Linked DNA regions of Homo sapiens: region 1 is linked to region 2. The links are contacts of gene promoters, found by promoter capture Hi-C in blood cells and fetal thymus (Javierre and others, 2016). All regions are on one chromosome and are shown on one strand. Each heading gives the region's core, a stretch centred on a gene start or on the middle of the fragment in contact. The rest is flanking DNA. Distances are from core to core; before and after follow the strand shown.

What was found. The method cuts DNA at HindIII sites, captures the fragments that hold promoters and counts their contacts. A CHiCAGO score of 5 or more calls a contact.
Region 1: a contact is called between a fragment that was not itself captured here and the fragment with the promoter of HHIPL1 in region 2, in 1 of 17 cell types (naive CD8 T cells). The highest score is 7.2, in naive CD8 T cells.

What each region holds. Positions count from the first base shown.
Region 1 is chr14:96,438,994-96,443,790 of GRCh38, forward strand. AK7 (adenylate kinase 7) reads left to right here. Exons shown (of 18, transcript NM_152327.5): 7 at 3,737-3,825. Among named protein-coding and RNA genes, the nearest start is that of AK7, 49 kb to the left of the region's middle. The HindIII fragment of the contact is 4,300 bases long and covers 1-4,221 here.
Region 2 is chr14:99,643,191-99,647,857 of GRCh38, forward strand. It overlaps HHIPL1 (HHIP like 1), which reads left to right and starts at 1,939. Exons shown (of 9, transcript NM_001127258.3): 1 at 1,939-2,272. The coding sequence starts at 2,018. The HindIII fragment of the contact is 13,444 bases long and covers 1-4,667 here.

The sequences.
Region 1 (4,797 bases), core at 822-3,321, 3.2 Mb before region 2:
TGCCACTTATTGAAATGGGGAAGACAGGGAATGGAGCTGGTTGGGGTACAATGCAATGAAAAGTTCAGGAAGTTTGAGATAATTAATATCCAAGTATAGATACTGGGAAGGCTATTGGACAAAAAGAGTTTGGTGATCATGGGGGAGGTCAGGTCTGGAGATATAATCATGGGAGCTGTCAGTATACAGTGGGTACTTAAATCCTTGGGACTGGATGACATCAACTACTGAATGAATATGGAGAAGAGATAGGGGCCTGAGGACTGAGTCTTGGAACCCTCCAATATTGGAGGTTATAGGGAAATGGGAAGGAATTAGGAAAGGAGGTTGAGAAGGGTGGGCAGGAAGCAGGAGAGGAAATAAGAGAAAAGTAAATAATTATTAAAAAAAATATTTTTGGCCGACTCACGCCTGTAATCCCGGCACTTTGGGAGGCCAAGGCAGGCGGATCACAAGGTCAGGAGATCAAGACTATCCTGGCTAACACGGAGAAACCCCGTCTCTACTAAAAATACAAAAAATTAGCCGGGCATGGTGGCGGGAGCCTGTGGTCCCAGCTACTCGTTAGGCTGAAGTAGGAGAATGGTGTGAACCGAGGAGGCGGAGCTTGCAGTGAGCCGAAATTGCACCACTGCACTCCAGCCTGGGTGACAGAGCGAGACTCCATCTCAAAAAAAAAAAAAAAAAAGTTTTTAAAAAGAAAGAATGACAAATTGTGTCAGATACTGCAGATAATCAACTAAGATGAAACCTACAAATTGACCGCTAAATTTTTTGGCACTAGGTAGGACAAAAGTCTAACAGCCGCAGGTTCAAGAGGAACAGCTGGAGGGGAATTGAAGACAATGAGAACAGAGAAATATTTCAAGGAATTTTCCTGTAAAAGGAGGGGGGTGCAAAGAAAGAAGGCGGAGTTAAAGGATAAAGTGTAGTCAAGAGAGGTTGGTTGAACTGATTTTTAATTTTTATTTGATTTATTTATTATGTATTTATTTATTTAAAGAAGGAGTCTTACTCTTTCACCCAGGCTGGAGTGCAGTGGTGCAATCTCAACTCACTGCAATCTCCACCTCCTGGGTTCAAGCAGTTCTCCTGCCTCAGCCTCCCGAGTAGCTGGGATTACAGGTGTGTGCCACCATGCCCAGCTAATTTTTGTATTTTTAGTAGAGACAGGGTTTCACCATATTGGCCAGGCTGGTCTTGAACTCCTGACTTCGTGATCCGCCCGCCTCAGCCTCCAAAGTGCTGGGATTACAGGCGTGAGCCACCGTGCCCGGCCTCGAACTGATTTTTTTAATACAAGAGATATGACAGTTGCAGAGGAGAAGCTCAAGGAAGCTCTTACTCATTGTCCATTCTCAGCTACTTCTCACCTACCTGCTCACTGAATCTTGGCATTCGCAGGCCTCGGCCCTAGACCTTTTTTCTTCACCCTCTGCTCTCTCTCCCTTGGTCTGTTTATTCCTATGACTGATACCAATGACTCAAACTTCAGTCTCCAGCGAGGCTCTCTCTCCTAAGTTCTAGCTCTGTAGGTCCAGCTGCCTACTCAGCACCTCAACTTGGATGTCTTTCCCAAATCCAAACTATACCTACAGTCATCCCCAAACCTGCTCCTCCTCCAAGGCCCCATCTCAGAAAATGGGGTAACCCTCCAACCAGCTACATGATCAGAATCCAACTCCTCCCTCCTTACTGCAAACCAAAAAGTTTCTGAGACAGGTCTCAATCAATTTAGAAGTTTATTGTGCCAAGGTTAAGGATGCACGCCCAGGAGATAGGCCTGTGCCTTTCTCCAAAGATGACTTTGAGTGCTTCAATATTTAAAGGGAAAAGGGTAGATATTAGAGAAAGAGGAAGAAATTTTTTAAAGATGTGGGTAAGCCAGGCATGGTGGCTGATGCCTATAATCCCAGTAAAGCACTTTCGGAGGCCAGTGTGAGTGGATGGCTTGAACCCAGGAGTTTGAGACCAGCCTGGGCAACATGGTGAAACCCTGCATCTGCAAAAAATAAATAAAAGGTGTGGGTAGATAAGAGGCAAGCGGGCACATTCTTTTGAGTCTTTGATCAGCTGTTCGACATGAGGGAAGGGTAGAGGAATAGTCACTTATGCATTTATCTAGCTCAGCGAATCTGCATTTTTATGTAAGATAAAATAGACATAGGGCCGAGGAAGCAATCAGATAGGCATTTGTGTCAGGTGAGCCTAGGGATGACTTTGAGTTCTGTCCTTGTCCTGTACCTGTGAAGATAAGCTGTCAATTTACATTGTCAGGGTGAAATTCAACAGAACTGTTTTCGGGTAAAGCTCTTGGGGCCTACAGATAATTTCATAGTGGGCAAATTGTGAGGAAGGTATGAGGCCAGGCATGGTGGTTCACGCCAGTAATCCCAGCATATTGGGAGGCTGAGGCGGGTAGATCACCTGAGGTCAGGAGTTCGAGACCAGCCTGGCCAACATGGTGAAATCCCATCTCTATTAAAAATACAAAAATTAGCCAGGTGTGGTGGCACATGCTTGTGATCCCAACTATTCGGGAAGCTGAGGCAGGAGAATCACTTAAACCTGGGAGGCAGAGGTTGCAGTGAGCTGAGATCCTGCCACTGCACTCCATCCAGCCTGGGTGACACAGCAAGACTCCGTCTCAAAAAAAAAAAAAAAAAAAAGAAAACAAAATAAAATCTTTGAATGAGAGACAGGTTTGCTTTATGTAGTTCCTAGCTTGACTTTTCCCTTTGGCTTAGTGATTTTGGGGTCCCAAGGTTTATTTTCCTTTCACATTACCCATCATAAAATTCCCAGTTACTACAGTCAGCCTCCTCAATGTCTCCCTTCTCTCCATCCCCACTCCCTGCACTTCCCACCTCCAGGCTAAGCTACCCTATTTCGCCTGCACACCTGCCATCACCCCTCTGTCCCCACTGGACTCTCCTTCCCGCCACTTCTCCACAAGGCAACAAAAGCAAGCCTGCTGGTGTCACATCACTGCTTAGAACCCTTCAATACTTTCTGAAAGTCCAAAATATCTTACAAGACCCAGTGGTCTACTGTGACCCCTACCCCTACCTCTTTCACTCTTAACAACAATTCAAAATAATCTAATATGTGACACTTAAACAGTACTCATCATGTCTGTTTGGTTACTGAAATACTTAATGAGAAGAAAAGATGAGGATTTGGACTCTGAGGATCGGGGTTCCAGTCCAAGCTCTCACAAGTGTATCCTCCTGCATGCTACTTATCCGCTAAGCATTTCACCCCTGGACTGATGGTACTTATTTCCCCTCACCTCATCCCTACTGGTGGGGGTAATTTTAAATTTTAATTTGTCTTTTTGTGAGAATTAAGACATCATGCATGTGAAAACATTTCTTCTCTATGTGAATGCCATGCGTATAGCTACTAAATACGGCTGAGAGGTTGTAGATTTCTTGAAAAGTATTTCAGTCCCAGGGCTACACATTATTTCTCTTGGCAGAATTTGATTCAGTCCCAGGGCTACACATTATTTCTCTTGGCAGAATTTGATTCAGTCCCAGGGCTACACACTATTTCTCTTGGCAGAATTTGATCCTAAATCTCATCAGGGCTGATTTATAAAACACCCCCTAGAGGAAATTACTTAAGCAGATAGCTAGGCCTTTCAGTTGCCTCTGACTGTAGACTTATGTGTGAGCTGTAATAGCCATCCACATATAACTGGGGGACATGATTTTGCTTTTCTTCCTTTCAGATGGCTTGGTTGGGCGAGATTCCTGCATTACCAGTTTTTGGCGATGGAACAAATGTAATTCCAACAATCCATGTTCTTGATCTAGCAGGGTAAGCATTCGCCCAGAGACGTGACCTTCACAGAATTGGTTAATGTGTTTGTTTGTAGCCTAATACTTTTTGAGCATTTGCCTAGTGCTAAGACCCTTACATGGATTATTGTGTTCATTCTTCGTAACAACCCTATGCAGAAGGTACCGTCTTCTCCATTTTGCATCTAATGAAATAGTGCCCACTGTTCAAAAGTTCTACATTTCTGGTGACAAGTTCAGGTTCATCTCTTAGAAACTATCGACAGAATAGCAATGCCCTCCAATTTTGGAAAAGAAAGAACTTGGTGTGTACATTCTGAGGACGTAGTTTCTTATTCCTTTGTCCCAGATGAGATTAATATGTCTAACCCGTCAACTTAAATTCTAGAATTCAAATGGAAAACTGTAAACCTGAAGCTTTTTCCTTCTTTGACAGTTGTAGGTAAAGTTGACATATGTTTTTTATACTCACAGAGCATCTAAACCCTGTATTCAGACAGGTCCAGAAACCCTTCTCTTCCTTTGAAGACCCTGACTTAAACGTGAGGTCAATGAGTTGGTTCACTGTGTTTGTGGTTCATCAGCTCCAGCTTCCGGGGACTTCATTCTGTCACCCCTGTGGCACATCCCCAGAAAGGAGCAATTTCTGCACTTCCCTGAGGTTCTGGTTTTCAGATTCCCACTCTTTCTCTCATCCACTGGCCACTAGTAAATTAGTCACAATCTCAGATAAATTTCTAGACTTACTGGGAAATGAAGGAAGTTTAAACTTCAGGGCCACACCCCTGAGCAGATCCCTTTCCAAGACCCTGAACCTAATTTTTATTATTTTTCTTAAAGAAGGATCCTATGAGTCAGGGATATCCAATCTTTCGGCTTCCCTGGGCCACATTGGAAGATTTGTCTTGGGCCACACATAAAATACACTAACACTAACGATAGCTGATGAGCTTTAAAAAAAATAACAAAAAAAACTCATAATTTTTTTTTT
Region 2 (4,667 bases), core at 689-3,188:
CACCACGCCTGGCTAATTTTTGTATTTTTAGTAGAGACGAGATTTCACCATGTTGACCAGGCTGGTTTCGAACTCCTGACCTCGGGTGATCCGCCCGCCTCAGCCTCCCAAAGTTCTGGGATTACAGGCGTGAGCCACTGTGCCCGGCTCCTGACTGTGACTTTTCTTATCTTTTTTTCATGCCTTGTTGTTTTTCTGGAAAGCCAATCAGGATGTACTAGATAACAGAAACCGAGGTAAATAGGTATTAGGGTGAGGATTTATGTTACTCTGGCTGGGGCTGGGCTGTGTTTGACATTTTCTGTGGCTGTAGGAGCCCAAACCTCATGGCTGTGGCCCAGGCTCTGTGTCACTTCCACCTCTGTACACTCATCTGGAGCCCTGTGTTGATGTGTGACTATCACCCAGTTCTGAGTCCCAGCTGGGAAGTAGGCGCCATCGTGCCCTCCGATTCCATCCTGGCTCTGCCTATTCCCAGCTGTCTGTGCAGGAAGCCGTTGCAGGCCGCATTTCCCACCCTAGCAGCCCTCTGCTAGGTTCAGCCAATGAAAGCCACAGGTGGGAGTTGGAGGGGAAGTGGCAGGGAGAAGCCGGGGTATTTCTCCTCCTCTGTCTGTGCAGAATCTCTGACAGTGGCTATCTCCAGCTGTGGCCAGACAGGCCTTGTGAGGGTCCAGCTTTGACAAGGTGACCATAGCTCCTTGGCTCCAGTAACATCTGCTCTTCCTGCATCAAGGACCTGGGGACTGTTCCTACTGTTGCTGATCTCAAGGTTACTTCACTGAGCCCTGTATGGCTTCTTAGCCTCTTTGGCTTCAAGTCCCTGCGTTAAATTCCCCGTGTTTCAAATACTCAGAGATGTTTGGCTGTGCGGAGACCCTGACTCTTACACTGCACCTGTTCAGGCCAGAGCCACAGACCTCTGAGTGCTCCAGCCCTGCCGCATCTCATCCACCCCCAGCTCTGCCAGGAGCATGGGCCCAAAGACAGAAACATGATCCCCCAGGACAGTCCAAAGAGACCTGCAGAGGACGGATGTGTGCGTTGGGGCCATGAAGATGGAGTAGGAGCTCACTGGACAGAGAAGATGGGGAAGGACACTCCAGGGAGAAGCAAACGCTGAGGTCCACTTGAGAAAAATGCCTGGGTGGTTTTGGTGCTGTGAGATTCTAGGGTAGGTGAGACAGTGTGTGTGTGTTTGTCTGTGTGGGTGGTTTTGGTGCCATGAGATTCTGGGGTAGGTAAGACAGCGTGTGTGCGTCTGTATGTGTGTGGGGGGGTGGGGCGGGGTTGGGTCTGAATCTCCAGCGGGGGCAGCGGAACAAAGGGCTGGATGCCCATCCCAGGAGGTAGATTCATCAGTGCTCCCTATGCGAGAGTGGAAGTGGGGAGCCCCAGTGGGTCCTGGGCTGCAGGAGAATCCGCTGCCCCAGGAGCAGAGACTGGGAAGAAGCCCACAGTAAGGGCAAAGGGTGGACTGCGGAGACTGCTCCGTCCTCCCTCCCCACCCCTACGCCAGGTTTCACTTCTCCCTGAGAGTCCTGGGGCAACACCCCCTGTTCTTTCCCTCGCACCCCCATTTTTAAAATGTTACGTGGGAGCTTTCGGGGACGGGCTGCGGGCATCCGTTTCCCTAGCCCAGTGGGAGGTGGAACCGAAGCCCAGGAGTCCAGGCCTCTGGCCCTGCGCCTCCCTGGCTAAAGAGCGCCCTGTGGGGAGGAAGCAGGGCCCCAGGCGGAACCGGGAAAACACACCGGGGCTTTAAACAGACCGGGCCACTCCCATCGAATTTGGAAAGCGGTTAAAAGAGGTCGTGCCGCATTCTGCGCCGCGTCCCTCTTCCTTCAGTCCCGCCGAGTGTCCCCGACCAGAGGTGACCTCCTAGAAGGGGAGGTCCCCAAACTCGAGGCCCTGCGTGTAGGGAAGGGGAGCGCCCGCCCCTTCCCTGCCGCCGCGAGCGCCCCGGGAGGGGACCGGGGCTGCCGTCCCTCCGCCTCTTCCCCCGCGGGGCGTAGCGATGGCCCGGGCCAGGGCCGGGGCGCTGCTGGCGCTTTGGGTGCTCGGGGCCGCCGCGCATCCGCAGTGCCTGGACTTCAGGCCGCCCTTCCGGCCGACGCAGCCGCTGCGCCTCTGCGCGCAGTACTCGGACTTCGGCTGCTGCGATGAGGGGCGCGACGCCGAGCTGACCCGCCGCTTCTGGGCCCTGGCGAGCCGCGTGGACGCCGCCGAGTGGGCCGCGTGCGCCGGCTACGCGAGGGACCTGCTGTGCCAGGTGAGCGGGCGCGCGGCCACCGGGCGGGGCGGGGCGCGGGAGGCCGAGTCCTGGAGCAGAGATCGGAACCCCGCGGGGGCGAGGGCCAAGAGTGGGCGGCGGACTCGGGAACTCTAAGCCCCAACAGGGAGTCATTTGGCACGGGGCGGGGAGACCGCGCATCCCAGGACGACTCTTGGCTTTGCCATTCATTAGTTTTGTGACTTGGGCCTTCTCGGGGCCTCAGTTTCCCCTCCTGAAGCAGGAAGGACGGACGGACGGACAGATGATGTCATCATTTCCTCAGAGGTTGGGGGCTCTTCTGCCCCAGTCCCCTGGAGTCGACCCCTCAGCGTCCCACCCCGAGCAGCTGCACCCTTGTCGGGGTACCAAGGTGGAGAGGCATCTGTCCCGGTCAGTGCTCCTTTGTGTTGTCCCCGGGGCAGTGAAAGCAGGGGGCCCTGGCGTGGGCGTGGTCAACGTGTGGCCCGGGTTTGTTGAGGGGGTTGGGGCCACTGTCCCCCACGAGCGTCTCACCCCCATCCTGATGCCCTTGCCACTTCCGCCACCACCTCTGTGGGTGCTGTGCCCTCTCCTGGGGATGGCGCCCTGGCCTGCAGAAGCTCTCTCAAGACTGAGCGACAGCTCTTTGTTGAAGCCCCTGGGCCCCCCATCTTCCCTCTGAGGGTGGAGCCCCTGCTTCTGTGCACACCTGGTGGTGCCACCGCTATTTGTTTTCCTCTTGTGGGAGTCTGAGGCCCCAGGGCCTGACCACACCCAAGTGGGCAAATGTTGCCTGGCTGAATGCAGAAATGGAGCAGGACGGGCAGCCCCAAGGCATTCCTGCCTCAGCATCTGGGCAGTGAGAGGCCTGGGGTGGAGAGGCCCCAGGGGCCAGGGCCGTGTCCCAGCCTTCGGCCAGCAGGGGCAGGTGGTGTGGGGAAGGGCAAGAAGGCTGACTTGGAGTTGGAGTTTGATCCTGGCTCTGTCACTTCCCCAGCTTCGTGACCTGGGCAGGTCACTGCTGCACCTCACAATATCTTTAAAATGAAGCTGAGTATGGTGGCTTATGCCTGTAATCCCAGCACTTTGGGAGGCCAAGGTGGGCAGATCACTTGAGGTCAGGAGTTCGAGACCAGCCTGGCCAACATGGCGAAACTCCATCTCTACAAAAATACAAAAATTAACTGGGCATGTTGGGGAGCTCCTGTAATCCCAGCTACTCGGGAGGCTGAGGCAGGAGAAGCACTTGACTCTGGGAGGCAGAGGTTGCAGTGAGCCAAGATTGAGCCACTGCACCCCAGCCTGGGCAACAGAGCAAGACTCCGTCTCAAAAATATAATATAATATAATATGATATGATATGATATGATATGATATGATATGATATGATATAATATAATATAATATAATATAATATGATATAATATGATACATAAAATAAATAAAATAAAACCTTAACCACCCCCCTGGGTGGCCATGCAGATTAAATGCCACATACTAGGGGCTCGGTAAGTGTTTGCAGTTGGATTTCTCGAGGGCTTCCTTGGCCCTCACTGGCTGCCCAGCCCTGGGAAGGGTCCAGGTGAGGCTTGGAGCCCGAATCAAGGAAGACTCAGAGGCAGGCAGGGACTTGCCCAGTGGTCGCACAGCCCAGCGGTGGTTGAGGTGGGGACATGGACCACACTCGCTGAAGCGAGCTCATATCTTAGGTGGGAAGCAGTAGACTCTGGGAGGATGAGGAGGGGGCCCTGGGGAGCTCCAGAATGCAACAGAGGGTGGGCTGGCCACCTTTAGGTGGGCTCTGCTGGACTCCCATGCTGTACACCTCAAGGGCACGGGAATGGTCTGGCCAAGCGTCTGCCTCCCTCACCAGCCTGGGGGCTCCTCAGGACCAGGTCCTTTGGTCTCCCTACCCCCATCACATAGCAGAGTTCCTGCATCCATGCCACATTTGTCTATTGAGCACTTGCTATGTGCCAGGCTCAGCACGGCAGTGAGGTGGGCAGGTGGATGGAGGAAGGGAAGGGTCAGTCCTGATGCTGTCCCCTGGCAGGTTTCTTGGGAAACTTCCCAGGACAGCCTGGCTTTAAGCAACCAGCAGTTAGCAGGAGTGACCACTAACACTTCAGCCCAGGCGTCTCTGAGAGTGACCTCATGTCTGGAGTGAGCTTAGAGACGGCGGCTGAGGCTGGGTTATGGTTTCACTGACGGGGCCTCCTGGAGCATGCTGGCGGGAGGACCATGCTCTCTGCTAGCCAAGGCAGAGTCTGCATTTGGCACCTCCTGATTTCCACACGGGGAGGTGGTGGAGGTGCCTTATTCATAGGTCTCTGTCAGTGTGGAGGCACTCAGGCCTTCACACCTGCTTTGGGGGGATGGGAGACTCTTTCCTGAGGCTTTGCTTGTCCAGTAA